5 separate regions of the Homo sapiens genome follow, and regions 2, 3, 4 and 5 are each linked to region 1. Evidence: promoter capture Hi-C in human tissues and cell types (Jung and others, 2019). All regions are on one chromosome and are shown on one strand. Each heading gives the region's core, a stretch centred on a gene start or on the middle of the fragment in contact. The rest is flanking DNA. Distances are from core to core; before and after follow the strand shown.

The links. The method cuts DNA at HindIII sites, captures the fragments that hold promoters and counts their contacts. A contact is called where the count stands out against the background at its distance.
Region 2: a fragment that was not itself captured here is called in contact with the fragment with the promoter of B3GALT2 in region 1 in 1 of the 25 tissues and cell types used here (dorsolateral prefrontal cortex).
Region 3: a contact is called between a fragment that was not itself captured here and the fragment with the promoter of B3GALT2 in region 1, in 1 of the 25 tissues and cell types used here (dorsolateral prefrontal cortex).
Region 4: a contact is called between a fragment that was not itself captured here and the fragment with the promoter of B3GALT2 in region 1, in 1 of the 25 tissues and cell types used here (dorsolateral prefrontal cortex).
Region 5: a fragment that was not itself captured here is called in contact with the fragment with the promoter of B3GALT2 in region 1 in 1 of the 25 tissues and cell types used here (hippocampus).

Annotation. Positions count from the first base shown.
Region 1 is chr1:193,185,341-193,188,040 of GRCh38, reverse strand. B3GALT2 (beta-1,3-galactosyltransferase 2) reads left to right here and starts at 1,428. Exons shown (of 2, transcript NM_003783.3): 1 at 1,428-2,022. The region is part of intron 10 of CDC73 (cell division cycle 73); the gene reads right to left. The HindIII fragment of the contact is 2,577 bases long and covers 480-2,700 here.
Region 2 is chr1:194,466,063-194,468,762 of GRCh38, reverse strand. No RefSeq gene overlaps it. Among named protein-coding and RNA genes, the nearest start is that of LINC01031, 1.2 Mb to the right of the region's middle. The HindIII fragment of the contact is 3,400 bases long and covers 1-2,700 here.
Region 3 is chr1:194,715,447-194,718,146 of GRCh38, reverse strand. No RefSeq gene overlaps it. Among named protein-coding and RNA genes, the nearest start is that of LINC01724, 1.4 Mb to the left of the region's middle. The HindIII fragment of the contact is 5,509 bases long and covers 1-2,700 here.
Region 4 is chr1:194,396,425-194,399,124 of GRCh38, reverse strand. No RefSeq gene overlaps it. Among named protein-coding and RNA genes, the nearest start is that of LINC01031, 1.1 Mb to the right of the region's middle. The HindIII fragment of the contact is 6,004 bases long and covers 1-2,700 here.
Region 5 is chr1:194,732,198-194,734,897 of GRCh38, reverse strand. No RefSeq gene overlaps it. Among named protein-coding and RNA genes, the nearest start is that of LINC01724, 1.4 Mb to the left of the region's middle. The HindIII fragment of the contact is 4,833 bases long and covers 1-2,700 here.

The sequences.
Region 1 (2,700 bases), core at 179-2,678:
AATAAGTTATTTTAAGTAAGTTCTTAAGCATTACTCTGTTAACTAGTAAACTAATTTTAAAAACAAAACGGTAGTGAGTGAGAATTGCAGTATGGGTGGATATAGACTACAAGGAAGTTGGGTTTTAGTCCTCTCCTTCAAACTTAACTAGGAAAAGTCAAAGCTCAGTCTAGGCTTTAGGTTTCCTATTTATAAAATTCTTTTTTTTCTTTAACGATCCTTCTAACATTTCTAATACAGTGGGGTTCTTAAAACTACAAAGCACATTTCATCAGCAAAGCTCAAAAATATGTGGACAAAATTTTTTTTAATATCAGAGAAAACAAATTCATATTCATTTGAAATAGCATATATTAATGGTGGAGGCAGTGAGATGAAGAATATGTATATAACTGTTAACCTTTAGCTTAAGCTCCAAAACTATAACTTTCTAGGACTGAATTACTGTCCCTAGAGTCACAGAGGAAAAACTGATAATAAAGGCTTTTTACTACAACAAAAAATTTAAAAAAACCTTCCCTACTGCTCTGCAGTAAGAAAAGAAGGTGCCAGCCCCAGAAACTAACCATATTAGAAAAATCTCAGTGAGTGTGTAGTGTTAATAAAATCTGCCTCATGGCAAGTTATTAAATCTTTCTGAAACATTAGAATAAGTAAACATAATTAGTAAAATCTCATTACCCCCAGATCCTGTACAAGTGTGCTATATCTATTACATCATTTTACTGAATTCTACGATACATGTAATTTTAAAGGGAAGGAAAAATAAATAAAAAATAAATGACAACATTAAAAAGTGATTTAAAATAAAGTTTTCTGCCATCAAGAACACCAAAAACCACATAAGAGCAAAAAAGAAGTGGGCTGTATCACATCATGCATTAGTAAAGTAATCCAAGACAGCTTATTTATACAAACCCCAGAAAACGGGGGGGGGGATCTAAATTACAAAGATACATGGTTTCAATAGAAACCATAGGTCTTAACTACATATTAGTAAAAAATCAAGAGCAATTTGAAAGCAGAGAAAAAAAACTTCAAGAAGAGAATGCACTGAAGGGGTTAAATTACACCAACTTACACACAAAAGCTTATACTGCTTACACCCTACAAAAGCATGTAAGAAACATGAAAACCAACATCTAACACAGAAAACACTTAGAAAGCCTGTACTTAAGAATAAAGTTAAAAAAGGAAGTAAGCTGGAAAAAATAAAATCATAACCATTTCATAATCATCACATTTTCAAATTATTCACTCATCACTACACTTGCATTCAACATATATAATTTATCACATAAAAGCAAAATCTCTAAGCTTCTCCCTACCTTAGGTTTTTAGTCAAAATGAATGCAAACAATCACGTGGGATTCAGCCAAGCAGTGACGTTAAATTCTGCTCTGTCAGAGAGAGCATCTGTCAAGCCCACATTTAAACTGCTGCCTGCCTGTGCAGCAGCTGAGGAACCGTGGATTTCATATTATAGACTAAAACCCCATTAAAACTGCTCAAAATCCTTCCTGCAGCTGCCAGGCAACAACGAAAGAAGAGAGGTAAATCCTATTCTTTTCCAATACAACTGAAGCACTACATTTTAGCTCTGGCTGCTTTACATTGCAGCTCAGTGTTATTAGTAGAAATATGGATACTGAGACGAGAACACAGCACTGCATTGTCCAGCCAGGAAAATAGCAGATGTAAAAAGCTTCAATGCATCAACTGTCGGGAAGAGTCAACAGTGCTACAAGCAGAACGGGCAACTACAGCTCTTTTGTTTAACGAAAGAGAGAAAATGAAAGAAAGGGAAAATTTCAGAAGACTAGGACCCATATGAACAAGGAGGGTAACTCGAAGACAAGCAGACAGATGGACACTTTGGATACTGTGAAAAGCAATCGCAGGAGGCAGACTGTTGGGGGATGTGCGCATGTTCGATAGCATCTTTTTTGCTGAAGTGATGGCGTGCCAAAAGTATTTTCAGTGGGCATAATCCTCTTCACATAAATGGCCTGACCAAGGAAGGTATGTCAATATCTTGTGTATGATAGTCATTTAAATGTGTTACCTTTTTATAGCCCTGGAGGCACTAATACCTGATAAGCAAGTTCATACAGCTCACTGCCCTTGAAACTATGAAAAGGTTTCTTAATATCTGATTTTAAAATTTGTCATTGTTTAGAAGACAAGCTGTCACTGCTTTATGCAGCTAAATATGTAGCTTGGAGTAATTCTGGGTAATAGACATCAGAGGGAAAAGGCAAATAAGAAGAAGATGTGTTTAAAGGATTCCTTAAGAAATTAAACTTAAAAAAAAATCTGTAGCCCTTTACAAAAAACACAGCAATATTCTATCAAATTAGGTCAAACTGAATCCTTATCTAGTAAATTAAATGCTCTCTTAAAAATGGCTATCAAAAGACACAATGCAGTGAAATTTCATTAAATAGTAGCAAGGAAAACCTTAAGAGTTTTTTTTTCAAAGTCCTTTTAAAACAAAACCTTAATATGTAACAGCTTTTAGTAACAAAATCTTCCCCAACATCTCCCTAAATGAAGATAATGAACACAACCAAAGAGAGTATCAACAAATTTTAAATATTACCAAGCTACAAGAAGATACTAAAAGGAAAGCATTAACATAAGATCACATAAGGTAGTGTGAGTTTATGCATAACCCCACAATAGAGCCTCGTGTTATTA
Region 2 (2,700 bases), core at 105-2,604, 1.3 Mb before region 1:
TACTGGAACAGCAACAAAAATATGCACAATAATAAATATCCTCCTTTTGTAAGAGTATAGTCTTATAAAAATACATATTAAATACATAAAATTTGTTACTTTCATATGGGGAGAGGATAGTGGGAGATGGCTACAAAATTGAGTGGAATCAATGAATGAATGAATCAACTAAATATTAAAAATCAAACACAGACCTTGCATAGACTCTGGTGATTAAAAGGTGCTATGAACAAATCGTCTCAATTTGTGTGTCTGATGCCTAAGGAAAAAAAAATCAATAAGATACAATTTGTTTTAATAAAGAAAAAGTGCCAGTTCAGCAATGAAACAGTAAATACGAGGGAAGGAAGTAGGATATGACTTCAGAGAGATAGACAGTGTTCCGTTTATGTGGGTTATGGTAAAAAAGTGAATTTTATTTTTTCATTCTAATTTCAGTGTGATCTACTGGAGTTTTTTAAGCATGGAAGAAATATTATCAGACTTAGATTAGAGTGAAATACTCTGGCTACAATATAAAAATTAGACTGCAGAATGAAAGTAAAAATGAGACAACTGCTAGGAAGCTTTTGATTTTTCTGATGAGTTGTCATGGTTGGCACCAGTGTTATAGAACACAGTGAGAAGTTGGTAAAAGTGATCATGTCCCCTTCTGGACTAAGGTATGTTGTTAGCATCCAGTGGTTTTCCCACTAACGCCCCCAAATCCTTGGAACGACATCCTTAGAACTTCAGAGTTTGGACTATGCCGACCACAATTCTCCACTTACTCTTCGGAAATATTGTCCTTACTGAAAGAGATACTGCTTTCTCTTAAAGCTTCCTGTCTGTTCACATGCCACTGGGTTTTTAGCTTGGGAAAACCCTGTTTTCTCTTTTCTTGATCGTCATCTCTCAGATTCAGCTAAAATTCATTTCCTATGAGAATTCCTCTAAAACTGTCTTCATACTATGAAAAATTTAATTTCTGAGCCTAGTACTCCATTATTAATATGTAATTTTCTTTGTAATAGTGCTTTTCTATTAATGTCACTTTTTCTGTGTGTAATTTTTACTTGTCTGATTTTCTAACTAGATTGTGTAATTAGCAAAGACATGACTATATAATCACCACTTAACCAAACACCTTAAATAAGGAAGGTGTTTTATAAATGTTTGGTTTTGACTACTCAGTCAAAAAGTAATGAACAATACTACTGCCTTTCTTCTTATTTTTTTTTTTTTTTTTTTGCTTTAAACCTACATGTCTCTTTTGGAGATTTTCTGTAAAGTAAAACAATGTATATGTATAAATATGTTCTCATAGTTTGCTATAAAAATAAAATATATTAACTCAGTTGACTAAATAGTATATTCAAATATTTACTCATTTCATTTGTTCATTAAGAATAACATTTATTTGCCAAGAGCTAAACACATGAAAGTATTAAGTATCGCAGAAGGTACAAAGAAAATATCTACTGTAATGGGAGAGTATTTTTGTGGGTTGAGTAGAGACACAACTTTAAACATAAAGTAGAGTGATCTCAGAATAATAATAAAAATATCACACAATTTCACAAAAAGCTTAGCAATGAGGAGGAACACCATGTTTAACCTTTTCTTCTTGACTTATCTATTACCATGTTTTTTATTATAAAACTCAACAAAAAGTATGAAGCATTATACCAGTTAGAGTAGCACAAGCTGTACAGATGTACATGGAGGTTCAATGATTTTGTCTGGGAGATTGCTATTTCTCATTCACATAAATTCTACTTGGTAGTGATTGTGAGTGCTGGAGTGAGAATAGGGTCAGGAAATTGATACACACTGTATCCAGAGAAGGGGATGCTCTGATATTATGCAGCCACTAGATGGGAGATGAGAGCAATTGGAAGATGCAGTAGGAAGCGTTTTGGGGTCAAGCCTGGAAACGGTGCACGTCTTAACCAGAATAACGAAGTTAACAGGCTTGATGAATTATCTAGTTGCTGCCACAAGTATATTTTAAGAGCACTGAAATAAGATTAATGTAAACAAAATATAGGTACATGAAGAATATAGCAAATAGAAAATTTCAGGGTCAAGTTGATGTTCTCCCAACTTAAAAGAAATAAGAGAATGCAATTCTATATATTGAATATGACCAACCACAAAGCAAATCTTGTTCAAATACACATAAAAATATGCATGAGAGAAAATATTCAATAAATCCTTGTTAAATGAAATAGATCTGATTATGTTTCTTTAAATCCATATTCAAGGTATCAGAAAAAATTATGGTTTGATATATTTCTATCTCTGCCCTTTTATTCTTGGTCTGATAATTTTGTGGCACTCAACCTCAAACTTAAAGGACATTGCAAATTGTTAGTAGATTTTAAATGCCTATTACATTATAACTACAGTTCCAAATCATCAATCTGATGATCTGACAGTATTATATAAAAAATGATAAAAATAGATGAAATGATCAATTCTTTAATAAATTATGAGACCCTACTTCATTGGAGACTCTTCAATGTTAAACTATTTGATATGCAAATCTCAGATGCTCTGCTCTGGGTGTTTTTGTATCTTTTTTTCTGTGTTCCACTTTGAATAACTTTTATTAACTTGTCTTCTAGCTTACTGATTCTTTCCTCTTCTGTGCCCAGTTTTCTGATTGCACACTAAACACTTTATTTCCATTACCATGTATTTCTAGCATTTCTATTT
Region 3 (2,700 bases), core at 17-2,516, 1.5 Mb before region 1:
ATCAGATTCTAAAATGCTTAGTCATTTTCTTTTGCATAACTCATTGCCAAAATGTTTCCATGGGAATAAAATCCAACTCCTTAATATAGACTATGTTCTATGCAATTCTCCTATGGCTCCATCTAAATTCAGATATTACCAGAAAAAAAAAAACAGCTAAAGTGATATGCATAAAAACAATGCATTTTGATGGCTTTTGAGCTTAGTTATTGAATTCTAAATTCACCATTCAGTTGGCATTTCTCTTTCTGTTTAATCTTAAACCAACTAATAACTATTTATACTACCCTGATACTTTATTTGGGAAAAGCTCACACAGACAAGAAAATAGTAGAAAATTGCCTATACAAGTCTCTCTCTCTCTCCCCCACTCCTTTTGAATGTACATATGTCTCTCTATATATTATACCTGCGTGTATATTTCCAAATATACCTATATGGAAGTATAATATATATAAGTATACATATGGGTATATACATAAGTGTGTGTGTGTGTGTATACATATATATATATATTTGACAAAATTACATTATCTATTTTTAATGTGTTCAAACACACAAGAGTTTTGTACAAAGGTTCTTGCAACTTACAGGCATACCATGTACTCAGTGTCATTGCTCATTGCTCTATTTTAAGAAAGCTCGGAGTGGCAGACACAACAATTTTCCATTCTGTGGGTTCTTTAGCCATGGATCAAAATAATTTTTTTATAAATAGTTTTTGCATATTTGCTTTAATTGCACTGGCAAAATTTCAGAGAAAAAAAAAAACACCTTTTAGCTCTCAATATACATGACATGTCCAGAGTGGTATTTCCTAGGTTTTCTTCTAGGATTTTCATAGTTTAGGGTCTCAGTTAAGTCTTTGATTTGTCTTGAGTTAATTTTTCCATATGGTAAAATGTAGGGGTTCAGTTTTAATCTTCTGCATATGGGCTAGCCAGTTATCCCAACACCACTTATTAAATAGGGGGTCCTTTCTCCACTCTTTGTTACTGTCGATTTTGTGATTAAGTCACCAAAAGCAATCGCAACAACAAAAAAATGACAAGTGGGACCTAATTAAACTAAAAAGCTTCTGCACAGATAAAGAAACTATTAAGAGAGTAAACAGACAACCTGCAGAATGGGAGAGATATTCACAAACTACACATCTGACAGAGATCTAATGTCCAGAATCTATAAGGAATGTAAGCAATTCTACAAACAAAAACCAAATAACCTTCTTAAAAGATGGGCCAAGGACGTGAACAGACAGTTCTCAAAAGAAGACACTAATCATTAATCATCTAATCATTAGAGAAATGCAAATCAAAACCACGGTGAGATACCATTTCACACCAGTCAGAATGGCAATTATTAAAAAGTCATAAAATAACCTATGTTGGTGAAATTGCAGAGAAAAGGGAAGGCTTATACACTGTTTGTAAGAATGTAAATTAGTTTAGCCACTATGGAAAGCAGTTTGGAGATTTCTCAAAGAACTTAAAAGAGAGCTACCATTCAAACAAGCAATCCCATTACTGGGAATGTACACAAAGGGAAATAAATTACTCTATCAAAAAGACACATGCACTCAAATGTTCATGGAAACACTATTCACAATAGCAAAGACATGGAATCAGCCTAGATGGCCATCAGTGAGGGACTGGATAAACAAAATGGAACACATATACACCATAGAATACTACACAACTATCAAAAGAATGAAATCATGTTCTTCGCAGCAACGTGGATGCAATGGGAGGCCACTAACCTAAGTGAATTAACACAGGAACAGAAAACCAAATACCATATGTTATCACTTATAAGTGGGAGCTAAACATTAAGTACATATGGATGTAATGATTGGAACAGTAGACACTGAGGAGGGCCAGGTGCCATGGTTCACGCCTGTAATCCCAGCACTTTGGGAGGCCCAGGTGGGTGGATCACTTGAGGTCAAGAGTTCGAGACCAGCCTGGCCAATATGGCAAAAACCTCATCTCTACTAAAAAAACAAAAATTAGCCGGGTATGGTGGCGCATGCCTGTAGCCCCATGTACTTGAGAGGCTGAGGCATGAGAATCATTTGAACCCTGAAGCAGAGGTTGTGGTGAGTTGAGATCGCACCACTGCACTCCAGCCTGAGTAACAAGGTGAGGCTCCATCTCAAAAAAAAAAAAAAAAAATACTGAAGACTACTAGTGGGGGAAGGCTAGAGAAGAGTGTTGTGAAGCTACCTATCAGGTACCATGTTCAGTACCTGGGTGATGAGATAATACATAAACCAAACCTCAGTGACACGTAATTTACCCGTGGAACAAACCTGCACATGTACTCCCTGAACCTAAAATAAAAGCGGGAAAAAAGAAGTGATTTACCTCAAAGTTACTGTTTTCTCTATATTTCAGCTTTGAAACCTAAATAGTTGATAAATGTTCCCAAATTCAATGAATTTAGTACATGTTAGAACTAAGATTTGAATTCAGGCAACCTATATTTTCATCTACTGTACCACCCATTATACTGTGTTAACAGTGATACAGAAATGGAAAACTAGCAGTATTTGTGAATGTATTTAGAGATAGGCTAATGAATTGGGTGTGTGTGGTGTAGAAGAAACTATATATAGTTTCTACATATATATCATTTCTATATAGAAATAGTTTATTTTTCTAATACTTATATAAAATGCTTTCATACACATATATTTTTTCC
Region 4 (2,700 bases), core at 85-2,584, 1.2 Mb before region 1:
CTGACCACAGTTGAATAAAACTACAAATGAATAACAAGAGGAACCTTAGAAAATATGCAAACATGTGGAAATGAAACAACATGACCAATGAGTCAAGGAAGAAATTAAGAAGAAAATTTTAAAATTTTATATAAAAAGAAGTATGTCCACTATCACCACTTCTAGTCAACAAAGAACTAGCAGTGCTAACAATAGCAATCAGGCCAGAAAAAAAAGCATTCAAATTGGAAAGGAATAAATAAAATAGTTTATTTGTAGATGACATGATCCTATATATAGAAAACCCCAAAGATTTCACATGCACACACACACACACACACACACACACACAGACACACACACACACACACAGAGAGAGAGAAAGAGAGAGAAACTGTTAGAACTAAAAAATTCAGTAAAGTTGCAGGAACAAAAAATCAACATACAAAAATTAATAGCATTTTTATATACAAATAACAGCCTACCTGAAGAAAATAAGGAAAATAATCCCATTTATGGTAGCATCAAAACAAATACCTAGGAATAAATTTAATCTAGGAAATGAGAGATTTGTACACAGAAAGCTATAAAGCATTGATGAAAAACATTGAAAAAGACACAAAAAATGTAAATATATACTGGGTTTATGGCTGAGAACTCAAATTGCTAAAATGTTAATAATACTTAAAACAATATACAAATTTAACACAATCCCTATGAAAATTCCAATGGTATTCTTCACAGAAATAGAAAAAAAATGCTAAAATTCTTATGGAACCAAAAAAGAAACCCCAAGTAGTCAAAGCAATACAGAGGAAAAAGAAAAAGAAAAAAAAAGTTGGAAGCATCACCACCATTCCTGTTTCAAAATAGAAGCATGGCATATTTTATTGCACTGTGCTTTATTGTGCTTTGCATATATACACTTTTTCCTAATTGAATATTGCTTTTTTTTCTTTTCTTTCTTTTTTTTTTTTTTTTGTTTTGAGACGGAGTCTTGCTCTTTCAACCAGGCTGGAGTGCAGTGGCGCGATCTCGGCTCACTGTCAGCTCCACCTCCCATGTTCACGCCATTCTCCTGCCTCAGCCTCCCCAGTAGCTGGGACCACAGGCGCCCGCCACCACGCCTGGCTAATTTTTTGTATTTTTAGTAGAGACGGGGTTTCACCGTGTTAGCCAGGATGGTTTCAATCTCCTGACCTCGTGATCTGCCCGCCTTGGCCTCCCAAAGTGCTAGGATTACAGGCCTAAGCCACCGTGCACGGCTGAATATTGCATTTTTTACAAATTGTTTGTGGTAACTCTGCAACCAGCAAGGAAGTTAATTAGCCTCATTTTTCCAACAACATATGCTCACTTCATGTCTTTGTATTTCATTTTGGTAATCCCCATAATATTCCAAACTCTTTCATTATTATAATATCACTAATGATGATTTGTGGTCAGTGATCTTTGATGTTACTATTATAATTGTTTGGGGATACCACAAACCATGTCCAGATAACACAGTGAACTGAACTGATAAATGTTTTGTGTGTTCTGACTGCTCAACAACCAGTTATTCCCAATCTCTTTCCCTTGTCCGGGGTCTCCCTATTTCCTGAGATATAAAGATATTGAAATTAGGCCAATTAATAACCCATTATAGATGCTATTAAGTATTCACCATTCTAGATGCTAAGTATTCAAGGGTAAGGAAAAGTTTTATACCTTTCATTTTAAATCAAAAGCTTGAAATGATTATGCCTAGTGTGGATGACATGTCAAAGGTCATGACAGGCTAAAAACTTGACCTCTTGTGCCAGTTAGGTGTGACTGAATTCCTGCAATCTCATAATAAAACTTGACCAGATGAAGTGTTGCTTTTATGGATCAACAAGAAATGTGGTTTCTTAAAATGGAATCCAACCCTGATGAGGATGCTGTGAACGTCGTTGAAAGGACAACATATGATTCAGAATATTACATAAACTTACTTGATAAGTACCTAAAGGATTTGAGAAGATTATTCCTATTTGAAAGAAGTTCTACTGTGGGTAAATGCTAAGAAAAAGCATTGAATGCTACAGAGAAATTGTATGTGAATGGAAGAGTCAATCAATGTGACAAACTTTATTGTTGTCTTGAACTAATTGCTGCAGCCACTTCAACCTTCAGCAACCACCGTCCCAATCAGTCTACAGCCATTAAGTTTTAAGCATGATCCTCCACCAGCGAAAGGATTATGACTCACTGAAGGAAAAGATGATTTTTAGCATTTTAGAACAATAAAAAAATTTAAATAAAGGGTCTACACATTGATTTTTAGACACAATGCTATTATGCACTTAATAGACTATGCTATGGTATAAACATAACTTTGGAATTCACTGGGAAACCAAAAAATTTGTGGACTCACTTTATTATGGTATTAACTGTGTCACCCAGGCTGGAGTGCAACAGTGTCATCACAGCTCACTGACTTCAGGGCTCAGTTGATTCTCCCACCTCAGCCTCCAATGTAGCTGGGGCTACTTGTGTGCACCACCACACCAGACAATTTTTTTAAATTTATTTTTTGTAGAGACAGGGTTTCACCATGTTCCCCAGGCTGGTCTCAAACTCCTGAGTTCAAGTAATCTGCCCGCTTTGCCCTCCCAAAGTGCTGGAATTAACAGGCATGAGCCATCACACCAGCCTAGATGAACTTTTAATAACCAAAAAGTACTAGGGAATGATGGA
Region 5 (2,700 bases), core at 125-2,624, 1.5 Mb before region 1:
AGTCTGCTGCTAATTCATCTACTGATTCTTCACAAATATTTATTGAACCCTTCTGTAACGATACCACTCCTGGGTTCTATTTGGTACATGGCTAGCTAGAAGCAACTTAGACCTAGAAAACTGATGAAAATCTGTATTTAATGCCTCTAAGAAGAAATCCATATTTGAAGAAATCCATATTTCTCTTCTTTCCTCTCCTCTTTCTCCTGGCTAGAACATGTTCAGTTGAAAATTCTTTGAATCAGCAAAGAAACAACCTTAGAAAAAACAAGAAGGCAACTCTCACATCTCTTTAGTTCTAATTGCCAAAAATTAGGAGAGTGCATACAGTTTGGAGAATCTTTTTATATCTGAATGCTAGCTGCAATTATTTCAGAACAATATAATTTTTAAATATTCAGCCTTTGCAAGAAAAAAGGCATTGTAGAATAGAGGAGCATGATCTAATCAATAGCCTCTACCTGATAGAGACTTGTTCATAGGTCTGTGCCCTGGGACGTTGCATTGGAAACAGAGAAACCAATGATTTGAGTTTATACAATAGGTGAGAATATCTTAAATATATGAAAAAATATTCACATGTTGGAAAAACAAATAGAAAGCAAATATCTAAAATTCTTCTCCTAAAAAAATCTTTCCTATATGCAAATCTATAATCATTGTTAAATTGCTGAAGATTCTTAAATCTAACTCTGTATGTCTCTCCTACATACTTGATCAACGTATCTGACTAGCAATAAAAATATTTACCAACGCACCTTGCTGATACTCCAAATGTTATGTTACTCTTTTTCTAAAGTTATTTCCTGGTTTCTAATTATTCATCTTATATGTGTATATAATTAGCACTTTGCTTAGGACAACATGGTCATATCATAGATATTATTGACCACAAGAGTGGACAGATATTGGCAAGCTTCATTTTTAATGGTAATATTTTTACAGAGATTGAGCATTTTTGTACAAAAAGTAGTCAGTCTCCCTAGTAATTTCTATCTTTTTTATTTTTTAACAAGAAAAAGATCAAGCAAACCTGCACTTGTACCCCTGAATTTAAAAATAAAAGTTAAAAGTAACAAACAAAATCAATTAAAAAATTACAAATATAAATGTGTATGACACTCGAGGGGTTATTTTTCCTCTTTTCTCAGGAATGCTTTTATTACAAGAATATATATCTAAATTGAATTCCTGTCCTTAAGGTACTTGGGCCACTTTAATTGCTTTTCTAATTTCTTTTAAAAATTGTTTCTGTGGTCTTTATTATTAAATAGATACTGTGATAGGAATTTATCAAAAACTTATTAATTAAAATATATAAATTTATTAATTAAAATATATTCCTCAAATATATGTCTGATTTCATAAATATAAACCTATGCAAATGCAAATGAGATGGGAGTTGGGACATTCATTTGGGCTTGAAATCTGTAGAAGTTTGGTTTAACAAACCAATTGCACACTGTGTGGAAGAAAAATGTCCTGTCCAAGACCAAGATTTTTGCCGATATCTGTAGGAAGAAGTAAAGAAACATTTTCATTATGCACTCTAGTATCAGTTTTCTTCTTACCTGCCGGTTTGCATTAATATGTGTGTGTGTTTGTGTGTGCATGCGTCTATGTATAAAATATTTATACACACATACTTTATATATATACTTATATATATATACTTTACATATATAAGCACACACTTCACATATGACATATAAATACACATATATCCATTGTTACATTTATTCCTGTGAGCCTATATACATATTGCACAAAGCACTGACATTTTGATAAATATGTGGGAATTTGAGAGACTTATGGAGTGAGTCAGAATACCTTATTAAAACTGCAACTTTGCATTTAAAATTATTTTATTAGTATATGCTCACTCTCTGAAGTTCTTTTGTCCTCCCAACTACTGAGGATTTATAACTATTGAGGGTCAATAGATGGTCAAATTTTATTCCCTTTTTCTCCCTTATGCCTTTTCTCTGGTATTCAGCCTTTCTCTCATGATTTGCACTGGGAACTCCACTGAATACATAATAATATCGATAATATATCAGTTTCATGCAGACACACACATATATTCTAGGCACTATGTATTACAGGTAATATATAATACAATTTTCATCCAAAAGTATGGCATAGGCATTACTATTATCTTTACTTTGTAGGTGGATAAACTGTATATTAGGAAAATTAACTTGCAAAATTTCTGTATCTGACATGTATTCCCAAATTTCTGTATCTTCTCTTTTCAGAAAGATTGTCCATGTAGGGTTTAGAAAAGCCTCTAGATTTCTGGGCTTTGTTATAAACATATTATCTGGCTGCCCTAATACATTTGAAAAACCTTCTTCAACTCTATACTGAAAAGCAAAAGTTGTCTATTTACTTTCATGTAAGCTCTGATGAGACTCCCTAGTTACTAAGCACAAGAGGGCAGGAATATGTTTGCCTTGCTTATCATTTTATAATCAAGGCAGGCATTATGACTGCATAATGTCAGTCATTATGCATAACAATAAACATTTATTAAATGAATTATAAATGGATGTGTAATTATGATATCTCAAAGAAAATTAAATATTTAAAACAATACAGACTAAACTGTTTTCTGAATCCAGAAATTTGGTTCAAATGTCAAAAATCTCTTGAGCTACAAGCTTTAGAGGGTTAAAAATTTCATGATTGAAGGTGGAC